Linked DNA regions of Homo sapiens: region 2 is linked to region 1. Evidence: promoter capture Hi-C in human tissues and cell types (Jung and others, 2019). All regions are on one chromosome and are shown on one strand. The core of a region is centred on a gene start or on the middle of the fragment in contact, and the rest is flanking DNA. Distances in the headings are between cores, read along the strand shown.

What was found. Contacts are between HindIII fragments. The study calls those that stand out against the background at their distance.
Region 2: a fragment that was not itself captured here is called in contact with the fragment with the promoter of ALDH2 in region 1 in 1 of the 25 tissues and cell types used here (dorsolateral prefrontal cortex).

What each region holds. Positions count from the first base shown.
Region 1 is chr12:111,762,998-111,769,792 of GRCh38, reverse strand. It overlaps ALDH2 (aldehyde dehydrogenase 2 family member), which reads right to left and starts at 2,860. Exons shown (of 13, transcript NM_000690.4): 1 at 2,697-2,860. The coding sequence starts at 2,810. RefSeq lists a silencer at 2,853-3,172 and an enhancer at 2,632-3,401. The HindIII fragment of the contact is 11,183 bases long and covers 227-6,795 here.
Region 2 is chr12:111,451,398-111,458,192 of GRCh38, reverse strand. It overlaps ATXN2 (ataxin 2), which reads left to right. Exons shown (of 25, transcript NM_001372574.1): 22 at 834-979; 23 at 1,937-2,164; 24 at 4,348-4,516; 25 at 5,353-5,979. The coding sequence ends at 5,381. It overlaps SH2B3 (SH2B adaptor protein 3), which reads right to left. Exons shown (of 8, transcript NM_005475.3): 8 at 6,570-6,795. Among named protein-coding and RNA genes, the nearest start is that of SH2B3, 49 kb to the right of the region's middle. The HindIII fragment of the contact is 9,101 bases long and covers 1-6,795 here.

The DNA of each region.
Region 1 (6,795 bases), core at 1,611-4,110:
TGCTGAGTCAGCAATAAGGCCACACTGCAAACAGCCCAGGGGGCTCTAAGAGGTCCAGTTCCAGCACGGCGCCACCAGAGTAGAATGCTCTGTGGTCCTTGGAAAGGGTTAAATGAGATCTGAACGTACTCAGAATGATAACCCAGGTACATTGTTCAGTGAGACGGCGAGCTTCAGAATATAAGTGGTTGCATCTCATTTATGTTAAAAAAAAAAAAAAGTCTGGTGTGCTTGCATTCTCTCTCTCTCTCTCTTGCTGCAGGCACTTGTAAATGCAAACAAAATGTCTACAAGAGACACACCCACCTGTTCACAGTGCTCTTGGAGGGAGTAAAATGGGGTATCCAGAGAGGTTTATTTATTTATTTATTTTTTAAGAGATGGGTTCTTGCTCCATTGCCCAGGCTGGAGTGCAGTGGCACAATCATAGTTCACTGCAGCCTTACATCTAATCTCAAGCGATCTTCCCACCTTGGCATCCCAAAGTGCTGGAATTACAGGCATGAATCACCTTGACTGACCATGTCCAGAGAGTTGTAAGTCAGTCCTCTGCAATTTTATACAGTGGGCATGTGTTACTTTAATGATCTCAAAAAGTCTGATAAAGAAAAGCAGCCACAGGGAATTGACTCGGCTCCTCCAGCCTACACCCACAGAGTAAATCTGGAGAACAGGATGTGTTACCTATGGGCCTGGGTGCATATCTGGACCCAGCTGCCTCATCTGCATGTGATAAAGGATAAAGATTTTAATCAGATCCTGTGGCCAGAAGGGTTCCTAGGGCGATGGCTGTTCCTTGAGGACATTTCTGAGACAGGGTCTTGTTCTGTTGCTCAGACTAAGTGTAGTGGCCCAATCATAGCTCACTGCAGCCTCGAACTCCTAGGCTCAAGTGATCCTCCCACCTCGGCCTCCCATATAGCTGGGACTACAGGCATGTGCCACCGCACCTGACTAATTTACTTTTTTAGTAGAGACTAGACACAGGGTCTTGCTATGTTGCCCAGGCTGGTCTCGAAATCCTAGGCTCAAGGGATCATCCCACCTCAGCCTCCCATATAGCTGGGACTACAGGCATGTGCCACCGCACCTAACTAATTTACTTTTTTAGTAGAGACTAGAGACAGGGTCTTGCTATGTTGCCCAGGCTGGTCTCGAAATCCTAGGCTCAACGGATCATCCCACCTCGGCCTCCCAAAATGCTGGGATTTACAGGCATGAGCTACTGCACCTGGCCTCTGCTAGATCTTTTGATGCTCAAGTCTTCCAAGCATGAACTTGCACAGGCTGCCAAGGGAGCCATAGCTGCTGCCTTTTTAGCTTGTGTTATGCAAAAGATTTTATTTTATCCTTTTAAAAATTCCCTTGCAAATGACCTTTGTAACATCCCCTAAAATCACACGCATGTGCCTTTACCCATCACCTATATCCAGATTTGCAGCCACACTCAGGGCCAGACCAGCAGGTGTGCTGTTGAAAGCAGCTGGCTAGGAGCCAGCTCTACAGCATCCCAAATCAGCAATAGTCCCAGAGGATCGGTGGTCCCTTTGTTCCCACCCAGAGTCACAACATACCATGGAATGTTCTGGTTAGGGGCTTACTCCTGGAAGTTCAGCTGTGAACCCCAACTATGCCACTGACTTTGGTCTTTAGGTGAGTCACTAAACCTCTTTGTGACTCAGTCTCTTCATCTGTAAAATGGAGAATTACAGTCCCTTCCTACTGAGGCTGTTGTAAAAATTACCTTAAATTGCAAAACAGGTAGACGCTTAGAACAGTGCTGCACAAAGGCTGTGCAGACAGGACAGGAGCTGTGATTAACTATGAAGTGACTGGTTGATGAGGGCCTGTGTGAACCTAACCCTCAGAGCGCCTTTCCATTTATAGGAGAAAAAGCTTAAGTCAGAGAAGGCAGCCAACATGCACTGGCACAAACAAAACAAACTCTTTCATAACCAATTTCAGCCTCTGTGAAGTCTAGAACTTTAACCAAACTCAAAGATCAAAACAAAAAATATTCCAAAGTATTACTGATTGAGCAATCAATAAATGGACCACAGGAATCAGTTTTATCCTGGAAAGCTCCTCCTTGGTTTGGTCGAAGCCGGCGTTGGAAGCCGCAGACACCCCTTGGGGTCGGCCCCCTGGGGCCGAAGGTCCTCCAGGATTCCCTACTCCCAGCAATGGAAGCAGCCGAGCGTGGCCTCGCCCATGGTGAACTGGAGAACGTGGCTGCAAATCACCTCTTTCCTGGTTTTTCCTTTTGAACTCCTTGGATGAGGGCATGAGTCAGGGGGTAAAGGGGATGACTAAGGAAAAGACAGGAAAGTTCCTGCAAAGAGGGACTTGGTCGCGTCTTCTGAGTGGGTGAGGGTGGGGACCCTGCGGAGACCCGAAAGCAAGGACCATGGGGAGAACGGAACCCCGAGAGTTGGCCCTGGAAAACAGACCGAGGCTGGGCGAAGACGGAGAGGGGGCCCAAGTCACGGGGAAATGGGACGGGGACTGTCAGAGGCGGCGAAGGGGCTAAAATGCTTGCAGGAGAGGAGGGGGCAGATGTGCTTCCAGGTCAGCCTCTGCAAACCCCTCGAGCCCCAGATGAGTACACTAAGGCCCACGGCGGCGCGGGGCCTTCCTAGGGGCCTGCGGGGGACTCGGGCCGGAAAACAAAGCGCGAGCCCGGCCGGTGGGCTCACCTGGTTGCAGAAGACCTCGGGCTGCTGGTTGGGGGCAGGCACGGCCTGGGTGGCGGCGGCTGACAAGAGGCGGCGGCCCAGGCGGGGCCCGAAGCGGGCGGCAGCGCGCAACATCGCAGCGGGCTAGCGGACAGCGAGCGGACCGAGAGCAGAGCTAGGGTCTCAGGGCCACTGAGCCGACCCCGCTCCCCGCCCCGCGCGGCAGCCAATGGAAAGGCGGGGGCGGGCCGGGGGCGGGGCTGCCTCTACCATTCCTCGGGATGGGGCGCGCAGCTGATGCAAGCGAAGCGGGTGGCGCTAGGTACCCCCGGCCCGTGGCTGCCCCCTGGCTCGCGCGACGCCTCCGCGCCCGCCACCGCCCTCCGCCTGTGCGGAAAGACCCGGCCCCGCGAACGCAGCTCGCCTTGGTTGAGCCCCCAATGTGTGCCTTTGACCCCAATGTGAACAGGCCCGAGCCAGGGCGACCCTGACCTTCCCGGCTGATGCTCCAGGTGAAGAGACCGGCCGTAAACCCAAAAGCGAGATCATTTCGGAGGTGAAGGAGATGAACGAGGTGACATGGATGGGGCAGACGGCACTGCTTTTATAAGTACCATGGTCAGGAAATGACAAGTGAGACCTGAATGATGACAGGGAACAGCAAGGGCAAAGGCCAGGAGATGAGACCACCTGGCACGTGTTAGAGAAATGGAAAGAATGAATGGAGCCCAGTTAACAAGGAGAGAGGCGGCCAGGGCAAGGGCAGGGACGGTCTTGGAAGCAGCGGTTCAGAGTTTAGAACAGGATGATTTGCATGATTTGCTTATTCTTTTTTTTTTTTTTTTTTTTGAGACGGAGTCTCACTGTGTCGCCTAGGCTGGAGTGCAGTGGCACGATCTCGGCTCACTGCAAGCTCTGCCTCCCGGGTTCACACCAGTCTCCTGCCTCCGCCTCCGGAGTAGCTGGGACCACAGGCGCCTGCCACCACGCCCGGCTAATTTTTTGTATTTTCAGTAGAGACGGGGTTTCACCGTGTTAGCCAGGATGGTCTCGATCTCCTCACCTCATGATCCGCCTGCCTCGGCCTCCCAAAGTGCTGGGATTACAGGCGTGAGCCACCGCGCCCGGCGGTGGGACTCTGATTTCAACACCAGATTCCACCAAAGTCGCCCTGGGGGCTCAGCACCATTCCACACAAACCAGAGGAAGAAAAGGCATGGGGGTGGCCCATGGGAGGTTTCTGTGGGCTGAGCCTGCTCGCCTGGCTGGATTTCAATCACACAACCATGCCTCCATGCAAAAGAGTCTGGGAAATGAGTGGCCCCTGTGCCAGGAAGAAGGGAAATAGGTTTGGAGATCAGCTGCAGAGATAATCTGATAACCAAGACTCCCTTCCTTCTCTGAATTCAGCCATGCAGGCCCCACTTCCCCTTCCCAATGGCGCCTTGCTTTTTTTTTTTAGATGGGGTTTCACTCTTGTTGCCCAGGCTGGCACCATGTGGGCTCACTGCAACTTCCACCTCCCAGGTTCTAGCGATTCTCCTGTCTCAGCCTCCCAAGTGGCTGGGATTACAGGCGCATGCCACCACACTTGGTTAATTTTTGTATTTTTAGTAGAGATGGGGTTTCATCATATTGGTCAAGCTGGTCTCGAACTCCTGACCTTAGGTGATCCGCCCACCTCGGCCTCCCAAAGTTCTGGGATTACAGGCATGAGCCACCGTGCCAGGTACTTTTTTTCCCTTAATACTGTGTGTGGAGATCGTTTTGTCACAGCACACAAGGACTATGTCCCCATTCTCTTCAACAGTTTCATGGTATTCCTCTGGATACATGAGGTAGTTTTATTTCATGAATTTCCTATGATGGACATTTAGGTTGTTTCCAATCTTTTGCCACTACAAACAATGCCACAATGTATGCTCTTGATTTGCTTAAGAAATTAATAGAAATGAGGCTGGCACCATGACTCGTGCCTGTAATCTCAGCACTCTGGGGGGGAAGCTGAGGCGGGTAGATCACTTGAGGTGAGGAGTTCGAGACCAGCCTGGCCAACATGGTGAAACCCCATCTCTACTAAACACACACACACACACACACACACACACACACACACACACACACACACACACACAATTAGCCAGGAATGGTCGCAGTGCCTGTAATCCCAGCTACTCCAGAAGGTGAGGCAGGAGATTGCTTGAATCTGGGAGACAGAGGTTGCAGTGAGCCAAGAGCTGAGATCGTGCCACTGAACTCCAGCCTGGGTGATAGAGTGAGACTACGTCTCAAAAAAAAAAAAAAAAGAAAAAAAAAAAGAAAAAAAAAAGAAAGAAAAGAAAAGAAAGAAATTAGTAGAAATGGAACAAAGAATATTTACAATTTAAATACAGATATATTACCCTCCAAAGAAGTTTAATTTATGCCCCACTACCTGTCATGTCTGAGTTTCCTTACACCCTCACCAGTAGAAGTTTCAGGATTTTTTTTTTAGCTTTGCTAATCTGAGAGACGAAAAAGTGGCATTTCACTACCACATTAATTTGCTTCTCTTTTACGAGTGAGCTTGAGCATCTCTGCCTAGATGAAGTCATGCATGTTTCCTCTGCTATGAACTAGCTGCTCATGTCTCTGGCTCACTTTTCTATTGGATTGTTGGTCTTTCTGAAATTGATTTGTAGGTGCTTTATATGTATCCAGGCAATTAACATTTTGTCTATCATATATGGCACAAATACATCCTGCCAGTCATCTTTTTACTACTAAGTAACTGTAAGTAGCTATTTCTGAACTACTGTATATTCTGTGTCATTGATCTCTGTATGCGTGTGCCAGTATGACACTGTTTTCATCACTGTAGCTTTCTAAGTCTTCTTGTTTTTTTTCCCCAAGACCAGGGTCTCGCTGTCACCCAGGCTGGAGTGCAGTAGCACAATCACAACTCGCTGCAGCCTCGACCTCCCAGGCTCAATTGATCCTCCCACCTCAGCCTCCTGAGTAGTTGTGATTACAGGTGCATGCCACCATGCCTGACTGATATGGTTTCACTGCGTCCCTACCCAAATCTCATCTAGAATTGTAACTCCCACAATTCCCACATGTTATGGGAAGAACCTGGTGGGAGGTGACTGAATTATGGGGGCAGGTCTTTACTGCACTGTTCTTTTGATAGTGAATGAGTCTCACGAGATCTGATGGTTTTAAAAACGGGAGTTTCCCTGCACAAGCTCTTTTTCTGCCTGCGGCCATTTATGTAAGACGTGACTTGCTCCTCCTTGCCTTCTGCCGTGATTGTGAGGCCTCCCCAGCTATGTGGAACTATAAGTCCATTAAACTTCTTTTCTTTTTTTTTTTTTTTGAGACACAGTCTAGCTCTGTCACTCAGGCTGCAGTGCAGTGGTGCTATCTTGGCTCACTGCAAACTCCGCCTCCCAGATTCAAGCGATTCTCCTTCCTCAGCCTTCCAAGTAGCTAGGATTACAGACGTGCCACCACGACTGGCTAATTTTTGTATTTTTTAGTAGAGATGGGGTTTCAACATGTTGGCCAGGCTAGTCTCGAACTCCTGACCTCAGGTGATCCACCTGCCTTGGCCTCCCAAAGTGCTGGGATTACAGGCATGAGCCACCGCACCTGGCCTAAACCTCTTTTGTAAATTGCCCAGTCTCAGGTATGTCTTTATCAGCAGCATGAAAACGGACTAAGGCACCAGCTAATTTTTTTTTTTTTTTTTTGTAGAGATAGGGTCTCTTTATGTTGCCCATGCTGGTCTTGAACTCCTGGGCTCAAGCAGTCAGCCCACCTTGGCCTCCCAAAATGCTGAGACTACAGGCATGTGCCACCATGCCCGGCAGCCTCCTAAGTCTTAATAGCTTGTACTAATATTTCTCTTAACCAAGATCTTTCAGCCTGGAAGTGATGAGGTTGCACATGTGCCTTCGAGGGATTCCTCTGAGAACTGCATGGAAACTCAGTTGTAGTGGGGAGGCAGGCCAGAGGCAGAGAGATGAGGAGGGCTCAGTTGGCAGAAAGAGTGTGAAGGTGGAATTGACAGGTAGCTGTGTGGAGATGAGGGCGAGAGGAGTGGAGTGGGTGCTGAGGTTCTTACCATGTGCTATTC
Region 2 (6,795 bases), core at 1,211-3,710, 310 kb after region 1:
CAACAGAGTGAGTGAGACTTATATCTCAAAAAAAAACAAAAAACAAAAAACTGAAAGACATGAAGAAATGGTTTTTGTACCAAGGTTTGGCCCACGCTGAGATTCACAAAGAACTGGCTTTCAGTTCTTATCTTTATTTTGATTTAAACTGGCCCATCATGTTGTCCTTTGAAGTTAGTCTAGTAAATTTCTTTCCAAAGGGCTGGGGCACTCAGAAGGGAGTTTACTTTTCTATATTTATTTCATAAAGCAAAGATGGGAGATCCTCCATTAGGGCTTGGGAAAGTAAACTGAGTGGCAGAAGGGCTCCTGTGATTAGCTGAGAGAGACTGTGGTCCTTCGGCCCTGATGATAGATCCCTGGCCTTGCCACATACCATACACAGTGCCCGCACCCCCATCCCCCACCACACCCAATATAGTCTGTGCCCTCAGGACATTGCTCCAGGGCAGTAGCATGGTGAGGTTAGCCTGATGATGGCCTTGAGCTAAAGAGTGTGCACCTAAAATGCACTTGTTTGAGTAGTTTCTGCCTATGCCTTCAAGTTGCCTTTTTGGGAAAACCTAGTGACCGTTAAGAGTAAATGCAAACTAATTTGATTTTAATATCATATGTAGAGCTGTATTATATGAACCAAATGCTAGTCTGTTAAGCAATAGCTACACTTATTTTTTCAAGACAATGGATGGTTTAAATGGAGTCATCTATAGAAATTGGTAGTGGCGTGAGTTATGCATTGTAACCATCAAGAAAGTTCAGTTGATGAAGTGTAGAGGAGCGATGGAGGTTGTCAGACATCGGTTGTGTACATGCTCCTTTTTCTTTCACTTTAGTTTCCACGGGCTCCCTTGCTCAGCAGTATGCGCACCCTAACGCTACCCTGCACCCACATACTCCACACCCTCAGCCTTCAGCTACCCCCACTGGACAGCAGCAAAGCCAACATGGTGGAAGTCATCCTGCACCCAGTCCTGTTCAGGTAAGGGCAACTCAGAGGTCTGCATGGAGTGGCTTCTTTATCCTAGTATCTGAGTGCTTTCTTCAGGTGCCAGGTATCGCATCGTCAGAACACATGGCATGTCCACCCTCGTGAAGATGGATACAGCTGTGCCCCTGGGGTGGTGGTTTTAAGAATCACATTTAAAGGCTGGGCGCAGTGGCTCACGCCTGTAATCCCACCACTTTGGGAGGCCGAGGCGGGTGGATCACGAGGTCAGGAGATTGAGACCATCCTGGCGAACACTGTGAAACTCCGTCTCTAATAAAAATACAAAAAAATTAGCCGGGCGTGGTGGTGGGCGCCTGTAGTCCCAGCTTCTCGGGAGGCTGAGGAAGGAGAATGGCGTGAACCCGGGAGGCGGAGCTTGCAGTGAGCAGAGATCGCGCCACTGCACTCCAGCTTGGACAACAGCGAGACTCTGTCTCAAAAAAATAAAAAATTAAAAAAAATCACATTTAAGATACATGTTGATAATAAGGTGATTGGATAAGCTCTGGAAACTTGCAGTAATGAAAAATCAAATTTAACATAAAGTTCATAAGGCAAATTCCTATTTGCTTGGGACTTTTTAATTTCTAAGGTTTATGTGATGAGGTTATTTTCCTATGAGCTTCTTGAATTATGTTTGCTAATGGAGGCAGTTAAAGATGTCTTTGATATCTATCAGTTCCCTGGGGCAGTAGTCTTTTTTGACTTTAGTATGTATGCTCAGAAGTTTCTAACTGCCAGACTGAGAATCAGGCTTCTGTACCCTAGAAAGGAGTTGTCCAGATGGGAGGCACCTCCAGCCTTGCTCTTACCACCCTGTACATTCTCCTGTACTTTCCAGTGACCCTCATCATAGGCCCAAGTGTGCAAAGCTTAGCTTTGTGGGTATCCCTTGGCTGCTTTTCATTAAAGAAGTTTTCCTCTCAATTCTTTCCTGTCGCTTTGCAGCACCATCAGCACCAGGCCGCCCAGGCTCTCCATCTGGCCAGTCCACAGCAGCAGTCAGCCATTTACCACGCGGGGCTTGCGCCAACTCCACCCTCCATGACACCTGCCTCCAACACGCAGTCGCCACAGAATAGTTTCCCAGCAGCACAACAGACTGTCTTTACGATCCATCCTTCTCACGTTCAGCCGGCGTATACCAACCCACCCCACATGGCCCACGTACCTCAGGTAATACCAGCTTTAGCCAACTTTCTGTGAAGGCCAAGTAGAATGTGAAGGTTATCAGTAAGCAGCTAGAGGCTCTCCCAGCTAGGAAACCCTGTGTGTCATGCCATTTGCCTGTCTCCCTTTCCCTCTCAAATACACGTGATCTGGCCCTAAGGGAATGTTTGTGTGGTTTTGTCATGGGATCAGTGAAGGTGCTGATTGGTCAGTCCTTTAGTTTTCCAACTGAGACCTTAAAAATATCTTTGACTCTGGAATGCAACCCAGTCCTTCTTTCCTTTCTGTGTCTGCTTTGCTATGTCTATATAGCCTCACTACTATATATATGTGTACATATATATTCCCCTACACACTTACCTTGGAAGCCAGGCAGGGATGATGGCCTTCACAGAGTCTCAGCTCTCCGAAGTGACTACCGGGGCCTGTCAACTTGATTGTTACTCACATGAGTTCCAGACACATCTCTCCAATTGTTTTCCCTGGTTATCCATATATCTGCTTTGACCATAAGTTGTACTCTTGAGAGGGCTTGGCCTTGGACATTGGTGCAGTGTAACTAGAAGCTGGAAGCACCCAGGTGGTCCCATTTTTCTTTAAGAGCAGCCCTGGAAGCACTTTGGAGCTCACCTCCAGTGTAAGCTGCTACAGGTGAAAGGTGTGCTTGCCATCTCAGTGGTTGCTGTCTGCATCAGCTGCTGACAAAGGTCCCTGCACTCCAGGGCCCAGGGGATTGTCTTAATGAGGAGAAGGAGCTGCACTGAAGTTGGGCTCTAACGCTGGCCTTGAGGCCCTCCCTGGGGCTGTTACGGGTGAATTGGCTGTATTAGATGTCTCTGCTACTTTCATAACAGAACTCTCTGAGGCGGGTCTAAGTGAGACCTGCCACAATGAATTCCATTTCCTGTTAAATAGTGCGCCAGTGAGGCTCTGGCAAGGTGTGGGCTAGAGATGCGACTCAGTTGGATCTATCTCTCAGAAGGCTACCTTGTAAGTAGAGTTCCACAGCTCTGGGAAGTTTGGGCGTCCTCACCCTGCAAAGTTTAGGTTCTGTGGTGTAGCGCACTGCAGTTGATTTGCTTTTTGATAGTGGGGAGGGAAGCCGGTTTGGTCCGTGTGGGCCAGCGTGGTTTGGTGGAGTCAGCTTCATAAGAGCTGGGGTCCTGTAGGTGTCTACCAGAGGCTGGTGGCTAAGTAGGCATGTGAACTTACATGTAAGTCAGGGATCCCTAAAACCTCACTCTGTTTTTGTGCTGAAAGGGCAAAAAGGTTAACACAGGGAAGCTCAAATTTGCCATGTGCCCGTTTGAATATGTGAGAGTAAAAACGGCATTTCATCCAAGGCTTATCGTAGTCTAGAACAGTGCACAGTGTGGGAAAAAGGAAACAAGGGCTCTTCCTGGCCCTGCCAACCCCCTGCAGAGCTGGAATCCAGCTGTTTGGGCTGACTAAAATCACCTTTCCAACTTGACAGTGAGTGAGACCAGGTTGAACTTGGTACAGAGACGCTGGGCTGGCCCAGATGACTTCAGGTTACTCCTTTCCATCTCACTGGAGCCATTAAAAACTCCAACTCCTCCTCCTCCTCCTGCTCCATCAGCATATCTCTGAGAGAGTCACGGGGGCCTAAGAGTCTCTTTTCACTGCCTGGTGAGCAGACCAGAAGCAGAGGGAGAGAGGCAAATGAACAGAGGTCCAAGTAATTCACATACTTGACTGTGACAGTCTCTGCTTATTAATGTAATCTGTTTTCCTATTTGAAAGGGATGTTATCTGCAAAACTACCTCAGGCCCCACATGGCAGCCTGATTCTGAAGCATCATTGAATCTTGTATGATATTAAGTTGAGAAAGCTGCCCTTGGATCCAGTGTCTAATCTTTGTGAAGATCTTACCCCATACATAGAATACAATGATCAGAAATGTCAAGGGTTAGGACAGCACAGCCCTGACTTCTACCCAGGCTCACTTGTTGCCTGCTCCCTGACCCTTGCAGGATCTGCCCAAAGGTGAAGCGCGTCTTCAGGTCAATAGATAATCTACTAGAGATTGTCCCCAGAGAACAGAACTGGGCCCTGAGGCCCACCGTTGCCCTTTCCTGAGAGTCCCAGCCCAGTGAAAGGAACACAGTTGACATGTTGTTGAAGCCGGAGATGTTGCCTGTATGCGTAAAAGAGCTCTCTGTTTCAGGCTCATGTACAGTCAGGAATGGTTCCTTCTCATCCAACTGCCCATGCGCCAATGATGCTAATGACGACACAGCCACCCGGCGGTCCCCAGGCCGCCCTCGCTCAAAGTGCACTACAGCCCATTCCAGTCTCGACAACAGCGCATTTCCCCTATATGACGCACCCTTCAGGTGAGGCGTGTGTGTGCAGGGGCCGCCGGGGCACCCCAAAGCATTCTGCTCGCACAGGTGGAATGGCAGGCAGGGCCAGTGCTTCAAGCCCCGCATTTGAGAACTAGCAAGACCCGTCCAGGAGTGTGCACAGGAGGGACTGTGACGATCAGTTCAGCATCAGGGCCTGAGGCTTCCGGGAGCCGAGTCTGTGTGTGTTCTGATGGTATACAGGATTTGGCTTGATGAGAAGCAGCAGCAGCAGCAACAGCAGCCTGATGCATGCCTAGGACTCAGTTGGCCTTCCTTGTTATGACAGGCTGGACAGGGCAGTGTTTTCCTTCCTGAGTCCCAAAAGTCTGACATGTGGGGGGTTATTACCATGGCAGAGTTTGATTGTAGCTCTGGAGAAGATACTGCTGAGAAAGCGCTGTGGATGGACTGGCTTTGAGTGTAGCGTTAGCCCCAGCCCCTGAACAGGGGAGAGCGCCCTGTGATTGTGCTCTACTACTTGATGGCTGCCATGGCGATACTTCACAGTCTGACCTGTTATTCTGAAAGCAATACTGGTGCTTGGCTAATATTTGGGGAGGGGGTTTGTTAAGGCCTTTTTTTCTACCCCATGAACAAGTCTTCTGGGAGTTTTATCTGAAGTGGTTTTACGTCTGACTGGTTTGTTTCTACCCACCCACCCAACCCTCCCCACTTTGGTGCAGATGGGAGGGGGAAAAGCGAATTCAATTTTGAGTTTTGTTCAGCTAGCACGAGGATAGTTTACAATCATGTGCTGCAGAGACACTAGGCTGATGTGTGGTGTTGCCAGTTTTCTGTTTCAATGTTCGCTTTTCTTTTTACAGTACAAGCCCACCACCAACAGCAGTTGTAAGGCTGCCCTGGAGGAACCGAAAGGCCAAATTCCCTCCTCCCTTCTACTGCTTCTACCAACTGGAAGCACAGAAAACTAGAATTTCATTTATTTTGTTTTTAAAATATATATGTTGATTTCTTGTAACATCCAATAGGAATGCTAACAGTTCACTTGCAGTGGAAGATACTTGGACCGAGTAGAGGCATTTAGGAACTTGGGGGCTATTCCATAATTCCATATGCTGTTTCAGAGTCCCGCAGGTACCCCAGCTCTGCTTGCCGAAACTGGAAGTTATTTATTTTTTAATAACCCTTGAAAGTCATGAACACATCAGCTAGCAAAAGAAGTAACAAGAGTGATTCTTGCTGCTATTACTGCTAAAAAAAAAAAAAAAAAAAAATCAAGACTTGGAACGCCCTTTTACTAAACTTGACAAAGTTTCAGTAAATTCTTACCGTCAAACTGACGGATTATTATTTATAAATCAAGTTTGATGAGGTGATCACTGTCTACAGTGGTTCAACTTTTAAGTTAAGGGAAAAACTTTTACTTTGTAGATAATATAAAATAAAAACTTAAAAAAAATTTAAAAAATAAAAAAAGTTTTAAAAACTGATCAAGTTAGTGTGTGTCTGTATAAGCTACTTCTTTGTAGGATACTTAATATCAAAGCAGGTGTGCTAAGGGTGCATTTTGAATATCCCGGAAGGTAGCTGTGAAATGATTTTTCTTCTTCACCCTTAGTTCTGGTTCAAGGTATCTCTAGAAAAAGACAAGACTGAGCTATTCTCTTTGGTGGATTAGAGATCTGCTTCAGGAGGAGGAAGGTTGGCCAGAGTTGGGCAGCACTGAAATTCCACATCCTCGGGCTGACACCGATTCTGTAAGCTTCCTTTTTAATATCTCCTGAACCAAAATGAGTGTCATTAGCTGGAAGTTCCCAATTCGGGCATTTTTCTACTTTACCAGTAGGGGGCAGGAGACACTCAGAAAAAAATTGCAATAAAGAAATCCAGAGGGCATGAAGGCTGAAAAGATACAAAGATGTACAAAGCTGCTTATTGACATGGATGGACTCATAAGCATTTGTTAGTATTCCCAGATTGCAACGGGGAGGACAAAGGGAAGAGCGAGTATTTGGGCAGGGCAAGGATTTTGTAGAGACACCATGGTCTTAATAGAGCCTTTAAATATTATGACAGCAAATCAAGATTCTGAAAACTTTTTAATTCACATATAGCAATTTGTACATTATAGCAAAATTTGCATTATTCAAGAATAAGTTACTTGTACAGTACATAAAACAATACATAAAAATTTGCCAAATACCTTCTGCCTATAATGATACAAGATGAATCCACTTTATGTTATCACAATGTGCTGTATATTCTAACCAAACACAGGATGTCAGATGTGTCCTTGTTAATATACT